Regions from separate parts of the Homo sapiens genome. Here all the other regions are linked to region 1. The links are contacts of gene promoters, found by promoter capture Hi-C in blood cells and fetal thymus (Javierre and others, 2016). All regions are on one chromosome and are shown on one strand. The core of a region is centred on a gene start or on the middle of the fragment in contact, and the rest is flanking DNA. Distances in the headings are between cores, read along the strand shown. Region 1 holds the start of ZIM3 (zinc finger imprinted 3). Region 2 overlaps LOC124904784 (a long non-coding RNA gene). Region 3 holds the start of NLRP8 (NLR family pyrin domain containing 8).

Region 1 (4,558 bases), core at 1-2,500:
ATATATAAAATCACTCCACCCCTTTCCGTTCACCTGCAGGCTTGCTCTGTCTCTCAGGCTGGAATGCAGTGGCAAGATCCTTGCTCACTGCAGCCTTGACCTCTTGGGCTCAATTGATCCTCCCACCTCAGCCTTCCAAGTATCTGGGACTATAGTAGTCCGACACGGCGGCTGGGATTCAGGCTGGCTGGGTCATTTTGCTTTTTTTTTCTTTTTTTTTTTTTTGAGATGGAGTCTCCCTCTGTCGCCCAGGCTGGAGTGCAGTGGCATGATCTCAGCTCACAGCAACCTCTGTGTTTTGGGTTCAAGCAATTCTGCCTCAGCCTCTTGAGTAGCTGAGTAGCTGGGACTACAGGTGTGTACCACCATGCCCAGCTAATTTTTGTATTTTTAGTAGAGACAGGATTTCACCATGTTGACCAGGCTGGTCTTGAACTCCTGACCTCAGGTGATCTGTCTGCCTCAGTCTCCCAAAGTGTTGGGATTACAGGCTTGAGCCACCGCACACCGCCAAGGGTCATTTGCTAATACGATCTTTGGATACCTCTTCTCCTGGGAGGAGGTCTAGTCTGGTGCATCCTGTCCCATGAAGTCTGGTTTAATCTCTTGGAATTCAGTTGGACGCTCAATTTTGGAAGGTCTCCATGTCTGCAGGCAAGGGCATGTAGCCTGTGTTTAAATTCAACACCCAGACTAGGGTGGGGATGGATTGGCATGTTGATCTCATTTTGAGAGTATTAGTACAGCTGAAGAGATTTTGCCAGTTGGAGGTTGGAGCCTGAATTCTTTCTGTCGGGCGGAGAGCACTTTAAGGCATTGTTCCACCTCCGCTGGCCCTATTTCTTTTTTCTTTTCCTTTCTTTTTTTTTTTTTGAGACGTGAGATGGAGTCTCGCTCATTGCCCAGGCTGGAGTGCAGTGGCACGATCTTGGCTCACTGAAGCCTCCGTCTCCCGGGTTCAAGCGATTCTCCTGCCTCAGCCTCCCAAGTAGCTGGGATTACAGGCACGTGCCACCATGACCAGCTAATTTTTGTATTTTTAGTAGAGACGGGGTTTCCCCATGTTGGCCAGGCTGGTCTTGAACTCCTGTCCTCCCAAAGTGCTGGGATTACAGGCATGAGCCACCGTGCCCAGCCAATTTTTGTTGTTTTAATTTATTTTCATCCTCTGACATTTGGATAATGTTTTCCATGCTTTCTATTTCAAAGTTAAGGTAAAAAATTTTTACTTGCATGAACTTAAAAAAAATTCCATTGGAAACTGATTGGGCAGATTTGAAAATTAAGCTTTCACAATCACAATTTTTATGAGAGTTCATTCAGTTTTGGAGAAGTCGAGGAAAGAATTGGGAATTGAAATTTTGATGTGGCCTGATAGGATCAGGTGGGGCTTTTGATAGGAAGTGAGTGTTTTGGGTTGTTTCTTGACTGGATTATGATGCGGAATACAGCGGGTAGAGGGCCGATTAAGTTTTAGTCATTAGTGTAGCTTTTCAGTATACACGCCTTTTCATTTTCAGTCCCTTTCAGAAGAAAAGACCACAGGCATCAGAAATCAATCAACTTGCTAATTTATGCCAGATTCCACTGGAGGTAAGCTGATTTTTTTTTCTCCCTGAAAACCAAATGTCTGGGTTTTGTTTGTTTGTTTGTTTTGCATTTTTACTTAGTTTCATTTTTCTACCTCTCCTATTTGCTGGAATAAGCTAAATATTTTACATTGGTAGTTTAGATTTTTTTTTTAGTTGTCATATTGAAAAGTGATGCTCCCAGGACACTCAAAATTATTTTCGTGGCCCTCCAGTCCTTAGCATTACTGCTGGCCCACAGCTACTTCTAAAAACTTTTTATTGACAAATAATAATTGTGTTTATTTATGGGGTACAATGTGATGTTTTGATACATGTTTACATTGGGGGGATGATTAAATCAAGCTAATTAATCTATTTTTGTGGTGAAAGCATTTACAATTTACTGTTTTTTAAAATTATATATATTTTTTGTGCTAGAATTGGACTCCTCAAACTTTAATAAACATTAAAGTTGTGCCCGGCAAGTTTATTCTTTTTAAAAACATATTTACTTATTTAAAACTTTATTCCTGGCTGGTGTGGTGGCTCATGCATGTAATCCCAGGATTTGGGGAGGCTGAGGGAGGAGGATTGCTTGAGCCTAGGAGTTTGAGACCAGTTTAGGTGACATAGCAAGATCCCTTCTTTACAAAAAATAAAAAGTTAGCTGATGTGGTAGCATGCACCCATAGTCTTAACTATTCAGGAGGCCAAGGTAGGAGGATTGCTTGAGCCAGGGATTTTTAAACTGCTGTGAGCCGGGATCACATCACTGCACTCCAGCCTGGGTGACAGAATGAGACCCTGCCTCAATAAAATAAAATAAAAAATAAAAACTTTATTACTTAAACATTGAGACAGAGGTTTCACTATGTTGCACAGGCTGGTCTCAAACTCCTGGGCTTGGCTGGATGTGGTGGTTCACGCCTATAATCCCAGCACTTTGGGAGGCTGAGGCCGGCGGATCACTTGAGATCAGCAGCTCGAGACCAGCCTGAACAACATGGTAAAACCTTGTCTCTACTAAAAATGCAAAAATTAGCTGGGCATGGTGGTGCATGCCTGTAATCCCAGCTACACGGGAGGCTGAGGCAGGGGAATCCCTTGAACCCGGGAGGCAGAGGTTGCAGTGAGCCGAGACTGTGCCACTGCACTCCAGCCTGGGCGACAGAGCAAGACTTGGTCTTAAAAAAAAAAAAAAAAAAGTAACTCCTGGGCTCAACTGATCCTCCCACCTTGGCTTTCCAAAGTGCTGGGATTATAGGTGTGAGCTGCCACGCGTGGCCAAAATCTACGCTTTTGGCAAAGAATTACCAATGATCCAGCTGTCCCGCTTATGGCAAAGCTGAAGGGCTATCTGCATCCCATGTTCACTGCGGCGTTATTCGTCACGACCACAGCTGCTTCAGGATTCATGGTTTCTGCTCTCGGCCTTCCTTACTGTGCTCTAGCTGATCTGATGCTTGCCTCATTGTCTTTGCACAGGCTTGTTTTAAAGGTGCTGTTGAACTGCTGTTTAGCTTTCTCTCTCTCTCTTTTTTTTTTTTTTTGGGACGGAGTCTCGCTCTGTCGCCCAGGCTGGAGTGCGGTGGCGCGATCTCGGCTCACTGCAAGCTCCGCCTCCCGGGTTCCCGCCATTCTCCTGCCTCAGCCTCCCGAGTAGCTGGGACTACAGGCGCCCGCCACCACGCCTGGCTAATTTTGTTTTTGTATTTTTAGTAGAGACAGGGTTTCACCGTGTTGGCCAGGATGGTCTTGATCTCCTGACCTCGTGATCCGCCTGCCTCGGCCTCCCAAAGTGCTGGCATTACAGGCATGAGTCACCGCGCCCAGCCAATTTTGTATTTTTAGTAGAGACGGGGTTTCACCATGTTGGACAGGCTGGTCTCGAACTCCTGACCTCTGGTGATCTGCCTGCTTCAGCCTCCCAAAGTGCTGGGATTACAGGCGTGAGCCACCGTGCCTGGCTTGCACTTTCTTCTTTGAGACCCAGTCTCAATAAATAAACAAACACAAAAAAACCAAAACAAAAAAAAAAAAGACCTTCAGAAGGGGATCACTGAGGTACAAGTCAGGGCTTTTCTGAGTGGGTTAGGGAGAGCTTTTATCCAGGGTGTGGAGCATTCTATGCTGGATGATCCCCAACTTCCAAAGCGAATTCTGCTATTTCATGGTTCTTTTCCATTTTCCCTCAGATCTGCCTTCCCAAGACTTTACTGACTGGTGAAGAACAGGAAATGAACAATTCCCAGGTGAGCTTTTCAAAAAAATCTAAATCTCATAATGAATAAACGTATGACCCACGTTCCTCTTGCTCAGAATTAACTGTGCTAACCTTTTGGCATATTTTCCTCCTTCCTTCCATACTTCTATTAAAAGGTAACACACACTCTACTTTCTGCTTTCCTATTAAAGCTGAAACATTTCAAGTAAAGCTCAAGGCTGGGCATGGTGGCTCACACCTGTAATTCAGCAATCTAGGAGGCCAAGGCAGGCGGATCGCTTGAGTTCAGGAGTTTGAAACCAGCCTGGGCAACATGGCGAGATCCCGTCTCTACAAAAAATTAGCTGGGTGTGGTGGTGGTGGCGTACACCTGTAGTCTCAGCTACTCTGGAGGCGGAGGTGGGAGAATCGCTTGAACCTGGGAGGTTGAGGCTGCAGTGAGCCATGATTGTGCCACTGCACTCCAGCCTGGGTGACAGAGCATGACCCTGTCTCAAAAAAAAAAAAAAAAAAAGCTTGGTTACGGAAACACCAGGAGTTTGGTCTAGGTCCTGCTACTGGCTGCACAGAAAGCCAATGACTGAGACAATGGGTATTGCCAAGGAAGAAGCTTTAATCAGCTGCCGTAGGTGAAGAAATGGGAGCTCAGCCTCAAATCCATCTCCCTAACTCACTAAAACTAGGGGTTTATACAGCATGGAAGAAATATAACAATGTGTAAGAAAGCAAGACTAGGGAGGGGGCAAGGAGACATCTGTTGTGG
Region 2 (4,519 bases), core at 1-2,500, 1.0 Mb before region 1:
TGGTCTTGATCTCCTGACTTCGTGATCCGCCCACCTCGGCCTCCCAAAGTGCTGAGATTACAAGCACGAGTCACCACGCCCGGCCGTTTTAAAACTTTTAAAATTAAAGTTTAGTCCAGTCACGGTGGCTCACACCTGTAATCCCAGTACTTTGGGAGGTCAAGGCATTAGGATCACTTGAGATCAGGAGTTCAAGACTAGCCTGGCCAACATGGTGAAACTCTGTCTCTACTAAAAATACAAAAACTAGCCAGGTGTGGTGGTGCTTGCTTGTAATCCCAGCTCCTCAGGTGGTTGAGGCAGGAGAATCACTTAAACCCAGGAGGCAGAGGCTGGAGTGAGCAGAGATCACACAACTGCACTCCAGCCTGGGCAACAGAGTGAGACTGTTGTCTCAAAAAATTAATTAATTAAATTAAAGTTTATATGTAACCTTTATATACATAAACTATATAAGCTTTAAACATATATATACACATAAACATATATATAGGCATAAAGTCCTCAACTTCACAACTTGATGAGTTTTTTTATATATGTCTAAATATATAAATATATAATGTCCATATATAAAAATCCATCACACAGGTCAACAGAAAATATATTTCCAAAACCCTGTACCACTTCCTGGTTAATATCTCCCAGAGTTAACCACTATCCTGATTATCATCATAAGTTTTTTTTCTGTCCTCAAACTTCATATAAATGGAATCATATAGTCTATGGTTTTCTGTGTCAACATAATGTGTTAGAGATTCATCCAAGTTGCTGCATGTATCAGTAGTTAATGTTTGGTAAATTGCTGAGTAGTATTCCACTATGGATGTACCACATTTTGTTTATACATTTTATTATTGATGGACTGCTGGGCTGTATCCAGTTTTGGCCCCTTATGACTAATGCTTCTATGAGTGTCCTTTTAGATGTCTTTTGGGGACATGGCTCATACTTCCATTGTAAGAAATTACTATTATGTTCTCTTGGGCAGTTTTTCCAGAAAGAATACAAATTTTGAATGCTAACAGGTCTGAAAATGCTTACTCTCTCCTCATATGTGTGAATGATATATTTGCTGAGCATCAAATCCTGAAATCAGAGTCTTTGTGTTTCTGGAATCTTCACTTATCTTCTAGTGTCCAGGGTTTCAGAAGAGAAACCAATGCTGCTTATACATACCCTGTGCTCTTTGTAAGGGATTTGCAATGAAACTTGTGAAGTTTGCACTAGTTTTGGAGTATGGGTACTTCACCAGACTATGATGTCTTTTTAACCCTGCCAAGACATTGGACATGCCCTTAGAAATGTGAAGATACGTACAACTCATTTTTTTTATTTTTTTGAGATGGAGTTTTGCTCTTGTCACCCAGGCTGGAGTGCAATGGCACAACCTTGGCTCACTGCAACCTCTACCTCCCGGGATCAACTGATTCTCCTGCCTTAGCCTCCCAAGTAGCTGGGATTACAGGCATGTGCCACCACACTCAGCTAATTTTTCTATTTTTACTAGAGACAGGGTTTCACCATGTTGGCCAGGCTTGTCTCAAACTCCTGACCTCAGGTGATCCTCCTGCCTCGGCCTCCCAAAATGCTGGGATTACAGGTGTGAGTCACCGTGCCTGGCCAACATACAACTCTTTATGATGCTTCTATTCAAGTAGATAGAAGAATGCTATTGGCAAAGTATTAGCAAGTTAGTATAAAGCTCTCTGATTTGTTTGGAGTGATAATATTTGGATTATGCAGAAAAAAATTGATAGCATATCCTTCAGCCCTCATCTAGGACTATCATAAAATTATACACATAAGGATCCCCATGATGCTAAAAGGTGTATGATTCCTGCACCATTCTTCAAGGTTGACGGTTCTTTTATTCATACGTGATGTAGAAAAATAGATACGCTGTTGCCATATGATTCCTGCACCATTCTTCAAGGTTGACGGTTCTTTTATTCATACGTGATGTAGAAAAACAGATACGCTGTTGCCACTGATAACATTTATGGGCAACCCGCTTGGGTCCCCTTCCACACTGTGGAAGCTTTGTTCTTTCGCTCTTTGCAATAAATCTTACTGTTGCTCACTCTTTAAAAAAAAAAAAATTTACATGTGATTACCTATGACAACCATTTCTCTTCTTTTCTTTTCTTTTAGACAGGGTCTCGTTTAGTCACCCAGGCTGGAGTGCAGTGGTACCATCTCAGCTCACTGTAGCCTTGACCCCCTCAAGCAGTCCTCACTTCCCAAGTAGCTGGGACTACAGGAATGCACCACCACGCACAGCTAATTTTTGTATTTTTATTAGAGACGGGGTTTCTCCATGTTGCACAGGCTGGTCTTGGACTCCTGAGCTCAAGTGATCCACCTGCCTTGCCCTCCAAAAGTGCTGGGATTACAGGTGTGAGCCTCTGTGCCCAGCCATGATTATCTATGGCAACCATTTTTTTTTTTTTTTTTGAGATGGAGTTTTGCTCTGTTGCCCGGGCTGGAGGGCAGTGGTGTGATCTTGGTTCACTGCAACCTCCACCTCCTGGGTTCAGCTATTCTCCTGCCTCAGCCTCCTGTGTAGCTGGGATTACAGGCATATGGGAGACATTTCTTTTTCTTTTTCTTTTTTTCTTGTTTTTTTTGAGACGGAGTCTTGCTCTGTCACCCAGGCTGGAGTGCAGTGGCACGATCTCGGCTTACAGCAAGCTCTGCCTCCTGGGTTCACACCATTCTCCTGCCTCAGCCTCCTGAGTAGCTGGGACTCCAGGCGCCCACCACCACACCCAGCTAATTTTTTTTTTTTGTATTTTTAGTAGAGACGGGGTTTCACGGTGCTAGCCAGGATGGTCTTGATCTCCTGACCTCGTGATCCACCCGCCTCGGACTCCCAAAGTGCTGGGATTACAGGCGTGAGCCACTGTGCCCAGCCGCATATGGCCAGACATTTCTATGAGACATTGTTCATCAGGCCTAGACCCTGAGTCCCCATTAAATGGTGTTTCTATGGCAAATTAGGGACATATGTAGAATAGAACTGCTTATCCCTGCTGATCTGTGGCTGCAGGGAGTCACAAGTTTGCAGTCTTGTTACATTCAGATACTTAAGAGTTAAAAAATAACTGGTGGCTTTTGCCTCCTTTATCCCTGATGTCAAATAAAATGGAATTCCAACCAATAGCTTTTCCACATTGATCTTTTTTCAATGAGTTTTTCTAATTTGTTTGAATTTCCTGGTGTCAAATAAGGTAAAAGCCATGGTTGAAAGCTTGCCAATACTGACTGCATTCATAGTGTTCTCCAGTATGAGTCCTCTTACGTTCAATAATATGAGAACAACTCCTGAATGCTCTTCCACGCAAATTACATGTATGGGGTTTTCCTCAGTATGAGTCCTCTGATGTCACATCATAAGGGCTAGGCTACGTCTGAAGCCTTTCCCACGATGACTGTATCCATCACTTTGCTCTCCAGTGTGTCTTCTGTGATTTTTGAGTAGTGGAGGAGCAAAGTGTAAAACCTTTCCCTGAATGATTCCCTTCATAAGGTGTCTCTATAGATTCTTAGCTATAGGGTAAAAGTGTTCACTTCTTTAGAAGAATTTCCTAAATTCACTGCAAATATATAATTTCCCACAAGTATAAATTGTCTCATATTGAATAAGGTATAATTTGTGTCTACAGCCTTTGCTACAGCGATTACATTTATAGTATTGTTCTCCTGTATAAGTTCTGAAACATACTGAAAGAAATATTTCTTAATAAAGACTCTCCAACACTCAACACATTTGTAAGGTCTATTTCCTGAGAGAGTTTGCTCATACATCAGTGGGGTTGAGCTCTGTTTAAAGACTTCTTTACACATACTACATTTATATGGTCTCTCTCCAGTATGACTTCTCTGATGTCAGAAAGTATTTACCATAAACAGGGATTTCTCACATTCAGAACATCTGGAGGGTTTGTCAACTGTGTGAGTGCTCTCAAAACAAAGATGAGAGGAGCTCTGAATACACTTTTCCACATTCCTTACATTCAACTCAACTCTCTCTAACATGAATTCGCTTACATTGACTGAGACTTGTGCTACACTTAAAAAATTTACTACGTATATTTCATATATAAGGCTTTTCTACACTGAACTGTTTGCAAGTCTAAGAAGTTGAGTGTTTTGACCAAAAGCATTCCCAAAATCATAATTTTCAGGGGTTTTTCCCTGTGCATTTATGGTTTATTAAATCTGAATGTTGTTTTACAATGAGTCATGTATGTAGTGGTATTCATTGATAAGAATATTGTTTAGTGGGCCAGGCACGGTGGCTCACGCCTGTAGTCCCAACATTTTGAGAGGCCAACGTGGGTGGATCACAAGGTCAGGAGTTCAAGACCAGCCTGGCCAAGATGGCGACACCCCTGTCTCTACTAAAAATACAAAAATTAGCCAGGTGTGGTGGCGGGTGCCTGAATCCCAGCTACTTGAGAGGCCGAGGCAGAGAATTGCTTGAACCCAGGAGGTGAAGGTCGCAGTGAGCCAAGAT
Region 3 (4,495 bases), core at 305-2,804, 1.2 Mb after region 1:
CGCACCTGTAATCCCAGCTACTGGGGAGGCTGAGGCATGAGAATTGCTTGAACCTGGGAGGTGGAGGTTGCAGTGAGCTGAGATCACACCACTGCACTCCAGCCTGTGTGACAGAATGAAGACTCCATCTCAAAATAGAAAAAAAATACATACCGATCTATGATAAAAGTTTAAATTATAAATTAGGTACAGTAAGAGATTAACAATAATAATGAAATAGAACAATTATAATACTATACTATCATAAACGGTATGTAAATGTGGTCTCTCTCTGTCTCAGAATATCTCAGTGTACTGTACTCATCTATTTTTGGCCATGATCAACCCAAACTTCAGAAAGCAAAACCTTGGATAAGGGGATGACTGTAGTCCAGCTCTGCTTTATTCATATTGAAGATGAGGTTTTGGATTACAATATCCTCCAGTGGGATTCACCCTTTGTTGCTGCGAAATGGCCTTTTAAAGTGTTTAACCTTCTTGCTTTAAATATAGCACTCCTGACATCACCATAGCTATACCAGCTGTCTTCTGCTGTTTCCATAGCATATGCTTTTCCACTATTTTACTTCCTACTTCTCTATGACTTCATTTAACGTTCACCTCATATAAGCAGTATTCAGTTAAGTTTTTAAAAAATAGGCCCATATGGGCTGGGCACAGTGGCTCACACCTGCAATCCCAGCACTTTGGGGGGCCAAGGCAGGCGGATTACCTGAGGTCAGTAGTTCGAGACCAGCCTGGCCAACATGGTGAAACCCCGTCTCTACTAAAAATAAAAAAAAATTACCCAGGCATGGTGGTGGGTGCCTGTAATCCCAGCTACTCAGGAGGCTGAGGCAGGAGAATCACCTGTACCTGGGAGGCGGGGTTTGCAGTGAGCCGAGATTGTGCCATTGCACTTCAGCCTGGGCAAGAAGAGCGAAACCCCATCTCAGAAAAATAAAATTAAAAAAATGCCCGTATGACAGTCTTTGCCTTTGGGTTAGATCCATTATCTTCCTCCACTGTTTGCTTTCTTGCTCAGAAGGCCAATAAGTGATAGGGGTGGTGACTAGAGTAGTTTAGCTGCCCAGCAGCCAAGCCCACCCCCACTTTATCCACCAGATCAACACTCACCATTTATCTCTCTGCGGACTACAACACACATTTTATCACAGTTCATAATGGCAAAGATGTTCGAAGTCACATCCCAAGCGCGTCGTCCAGGGAAACGCTCTATCAAGAGATGAACCACCTCTGCCCAGCTGGCTGTCTCGACCTGGTCCCAGGTGATGGGCATGGTGCCAGTACTGAGCTCAGTCAGTAAGAGCTGCTTGAACCGTTGTAGCTCCTCATGGCTCACGTTTCTCATGTACAGCATGACCCCATTTTCACATGGGGAGCCGGGGTAGCAAGAGAATGTCCAGGGCGGAATATGAGAACTGTGAGTGGAGGAGGATGAAAAGGGAATGGGGGTGTCAGAGGGTGGATTCACGTCACTCATCTTTAGTCAAGGCAGAGAACACCTCAGTGTCCACGATAAAGACAACCGATTGGAAGAGAGAAACACGAGACCTGCAGAGACATAAAACAATAAAACAAGAAGATGAAAACACTACCCAAGAAAACAGATTCGTGTAATGCTTACTTGGCAGGTATTCTGCGTGCCGGGTACTCCCTTTACCTCCTTTCCTCAAAGATTCTCTGCCCTATGGAAAAACTGAAGATGCATGGAATGTTTGGGATTAGTCCATTAGACTAATGGATTGTTTGTAGTTTCTATTCTCCATGACTTCTTTTGGGGAAGAGGCAAGCAAAATATCAAAGCCTTCACAAAAGGTTTAGCGAAAAGAAAAATTAGAAGCAGGTAAAATAATTCAGTGAAGCTAAAATCTAGAAAATATATGGTTGGTTAGAAGGCTCCATTAGATTAAAAGTGATCTCAAATTCAACAAAGTTTTTATTCTTAAAAAAATGGATCATGTATTAGAGAGATGCAAATCAAAACCACAACGAGATGTCATCTCACACCAGTCAGAATGGTGATTATTAAAAAGTCAAGCAATAACAGATGCTGTATTCTTAAAAAATGGATCATGTATTAGAGAGATGCAAATCAAAACCACAACGAGATGTCATCTCACACCAGTCAGAATGGTGATTATTAAAAAGTCAAGCAATAACAGATGCTGGTGAAGTCGCAGAGAAAAAGGAACACTTATACTCTGTGTGTGGGAGTGTAAATTAGTTCAACTACTCTGGATGACAGTGGGGCAACTCCTCAAAGACCTAAAAAGAGAACTACCATTCAACTCAGCAATCCCATTACTGGATATATATCCAAAGGAATATAAATCATTCTATTATAAAGACACATTCCTGTGTATGTTCATTGCAGCACTACTCACAATAGCAAAGTCATGGAATCAACCTAAATGCCCATCAGTGATAGACCGGATAAAAAAATGTGGTACATAAACACCATGGAATACTATGCAGCCATAAAAAAGAATGAGATCATGACCTTTGCAGGAACATAGATGGAGCCAGAGACCATTATTCCTTAGCAAACTAACACAGGAACAGGAAACCAAATACCACATGTGCTCATTTATAAGTGGTAGCTAAACGATGAGAACACATGGACACATAGAGGGAACACCACACACTGGAGTCTGCTAGAGGCTGGAGGGTGGGAGGAGGGAGAAGATCAGGAAAAATAACTAATGGGTACTGGGATTAATACCTGGGTGATGAGATAACCTGTACAACAAACCCACCCCCATAACACGTTTGCCTATATAACAAACCTGCACATGTACCCCTGTATCTAAAAGAAATGTAAAAAAGAAATAAAATAAAAAGGATCATGGGTGTATTTTTGTCCCCCCTGCCCCAACTTCCAATAATAGTTTATTTATTTATTATTTATTTATTTACTTAGAGACAGAGTCTCACTCTGTTTCCCAGGCTGGAGTGCAGTGGTGTGATCTCGGCTCACTGCAACCTCCACTTCCCTGGTTCAAGCAATTCCCTTGCCTCAGCCCCCTGAGTAGCTGGGATTACAGGCACCTGCCACCATGCCTGGCTAATTTTTTTGTATTTTTAGTATAGATGGGGTTTCACTATGTTGGCCAGGCTGGTCTCAAACTCCTGACCTCAAGTGATCCACCCACCTCAGCCTCCCAAAGTGCTGGGATTACAGGTGTGAGCCACTGCACCTGGCCAATAGCTTCTTCTTTAACACTTCTCCCTCTTATAACTTATGTGACACCCAAACATCTGGATAAACTTGTTTAATTGACTCAGTCCTCCCTTGGGTCCAGAGTAGCTGGGCTTGGTCCCAGGACAAAGGTGATATGCTCCTGGGTGGCTGACTCTTGCTAGTGCTCCTTCCGTCCAGTGGGTGGCGCTGCATGGAGGAGCCTAACACAGTCACACATTTTCTACCTCTACTTATTCCATGACCATTGCTGACCACGTTCCAGCCACAGTGAGCTGCAGCTTTAAGAAATTTGCAGGACTGGCTGGGTGCGGTGGCTCACGCCTGTAATCCCAGCACTTTGGGAGGCCAAGACAGGTGGATCACTTCAGGCCAGGAGTTCCAGACCAGCCTGGCCAACATGGTGAAACCCTGCCTCTATTAAAAACACAAAAAGTAGCTGGGCGTGGTGGTGGGTGCCTGTAATCCCAGCTACTCGGGAGGCTGAGGCAGGAGAATTGCTTGAACCCAGGAGGCAGAGGTTGCAATGAGTGGATATCATGCCACTGCACTCCAGCCAGGGTGATAGAGCAAGACCCTGTCTCAAAAAAAAAAAAAAAAAAAAAAAAAAGAAAAGAAAGAAAGAAAGGAAAAGAAAAGAAATTTGCAGGGCAAGGGAGGATGTTGGCAGTTACATCATCGTTTTGCTTTACTTTCATTCACTGCTGAAGGGAACATAAGCAGGGGGAACCTATCTGAAAGGCCTTTTCACAATACTACCAATCGTGTGCACTGCCATGGAATTCAGTAGTTCTACTCCTAAAACTGCAACCTGAGGCCAGGTGTGGTGGCTCATGCCTGTAATTTCAGCACTTTGGGAGGCTGAGGTGGGAGGATCACGAGGTCAAGAGATTGAGACCATCCTGGCCAACATGGTGAAAACCCGTCTCTACTTAAAAAAAAAAAAAAAAAAAACAAATATTGGCTGGGCGTGGTGGCATGCACCTGTAGTCCCAGCTACTTGGGAAGCTGAGGCAGGAGAATCACTTGAAACCAAGAGGGGGAGTTTGCAGTGAGTGAGCCAAGATCCCGCCACTGCACTCCAGCCTGGGCAACAGAGCGAGACTCCATCTCAAAAAAAACAAAAACAAAAAAGGCCAGGCGTGGTGGCTCACGCATGTAATCTCAGCAATTTGGGAGGCTGAGGTGGGCAGATCACAAGATCAGGAGATTGAGACCATCCTGGCTAACACGGTGAAACCCCGTCTCTACTAAAAATACAAAAACTTAGCCGGGCATGGTGGCAGATGCCTG

The links. Contacts are between HindIII fragments. The CHiCAGO score rates a contact against its expected background, and 5 or more counts as called.
Region 2: a contact is called between a fragment that was not itself captured here and the fragment with the promoter of ZIM3 in region 1, in 1 of 17 cell types (activated CD4 T cells). The highest score is 5.0, in activated CD4 T cells.
Region 3: the fragment with the promoter of NLRP8 here is called in contact with the fragment with the promoter of ZIM3 in region 1 in 3 of 17 cell types (M2 macrophages, fetal thymus and M0 macrophages); the score reaches 8.9 in M2 macrophages.

Annotation. Positions count from the first base shown.
Region 1 is chr19:57,141,894-57,146,451 of GRCh38, reverse strand. ZIM3 (zinc finger imprinted 3) reads left to right here and starts at 1,250. Exons shown (of 5, transcript NM_052882.1): 1 at 1,250-1,593; 2 at 3,767-3,823. The coding sequence starts at 3,809. The HindIII fragment of the contact is 22,671 bases long and covers 1-1,289 here.
Region 2 is chr19:58,165,761-58,170,279 of GRCh38, reverse strand. All of the region lies in intron 1 of LOC124904784 (a long non-coding RNA gene), which reads right to left. Among named protein-coding and RNA genes, the nearest start is that of ZNF274, 15 kb to the left of the region's middle. The HindIII fragment of the contact is 1,581 bases long and covers 460-2,040 here.
Region 3 is chr19:55,944,891-55,949,385 of GRCh38, reverse strand. NLRP8 (NLR family pyrin domain containing 8) reads right to left here and starts at 1,554. Exons shown (of 10, transcript NM_001433706.1): 1 at 1,117-1,554. The coding sequence starts at 1,483. The HindIII fragment of the contact is 8,931 bases long and covers 1-4,495 here.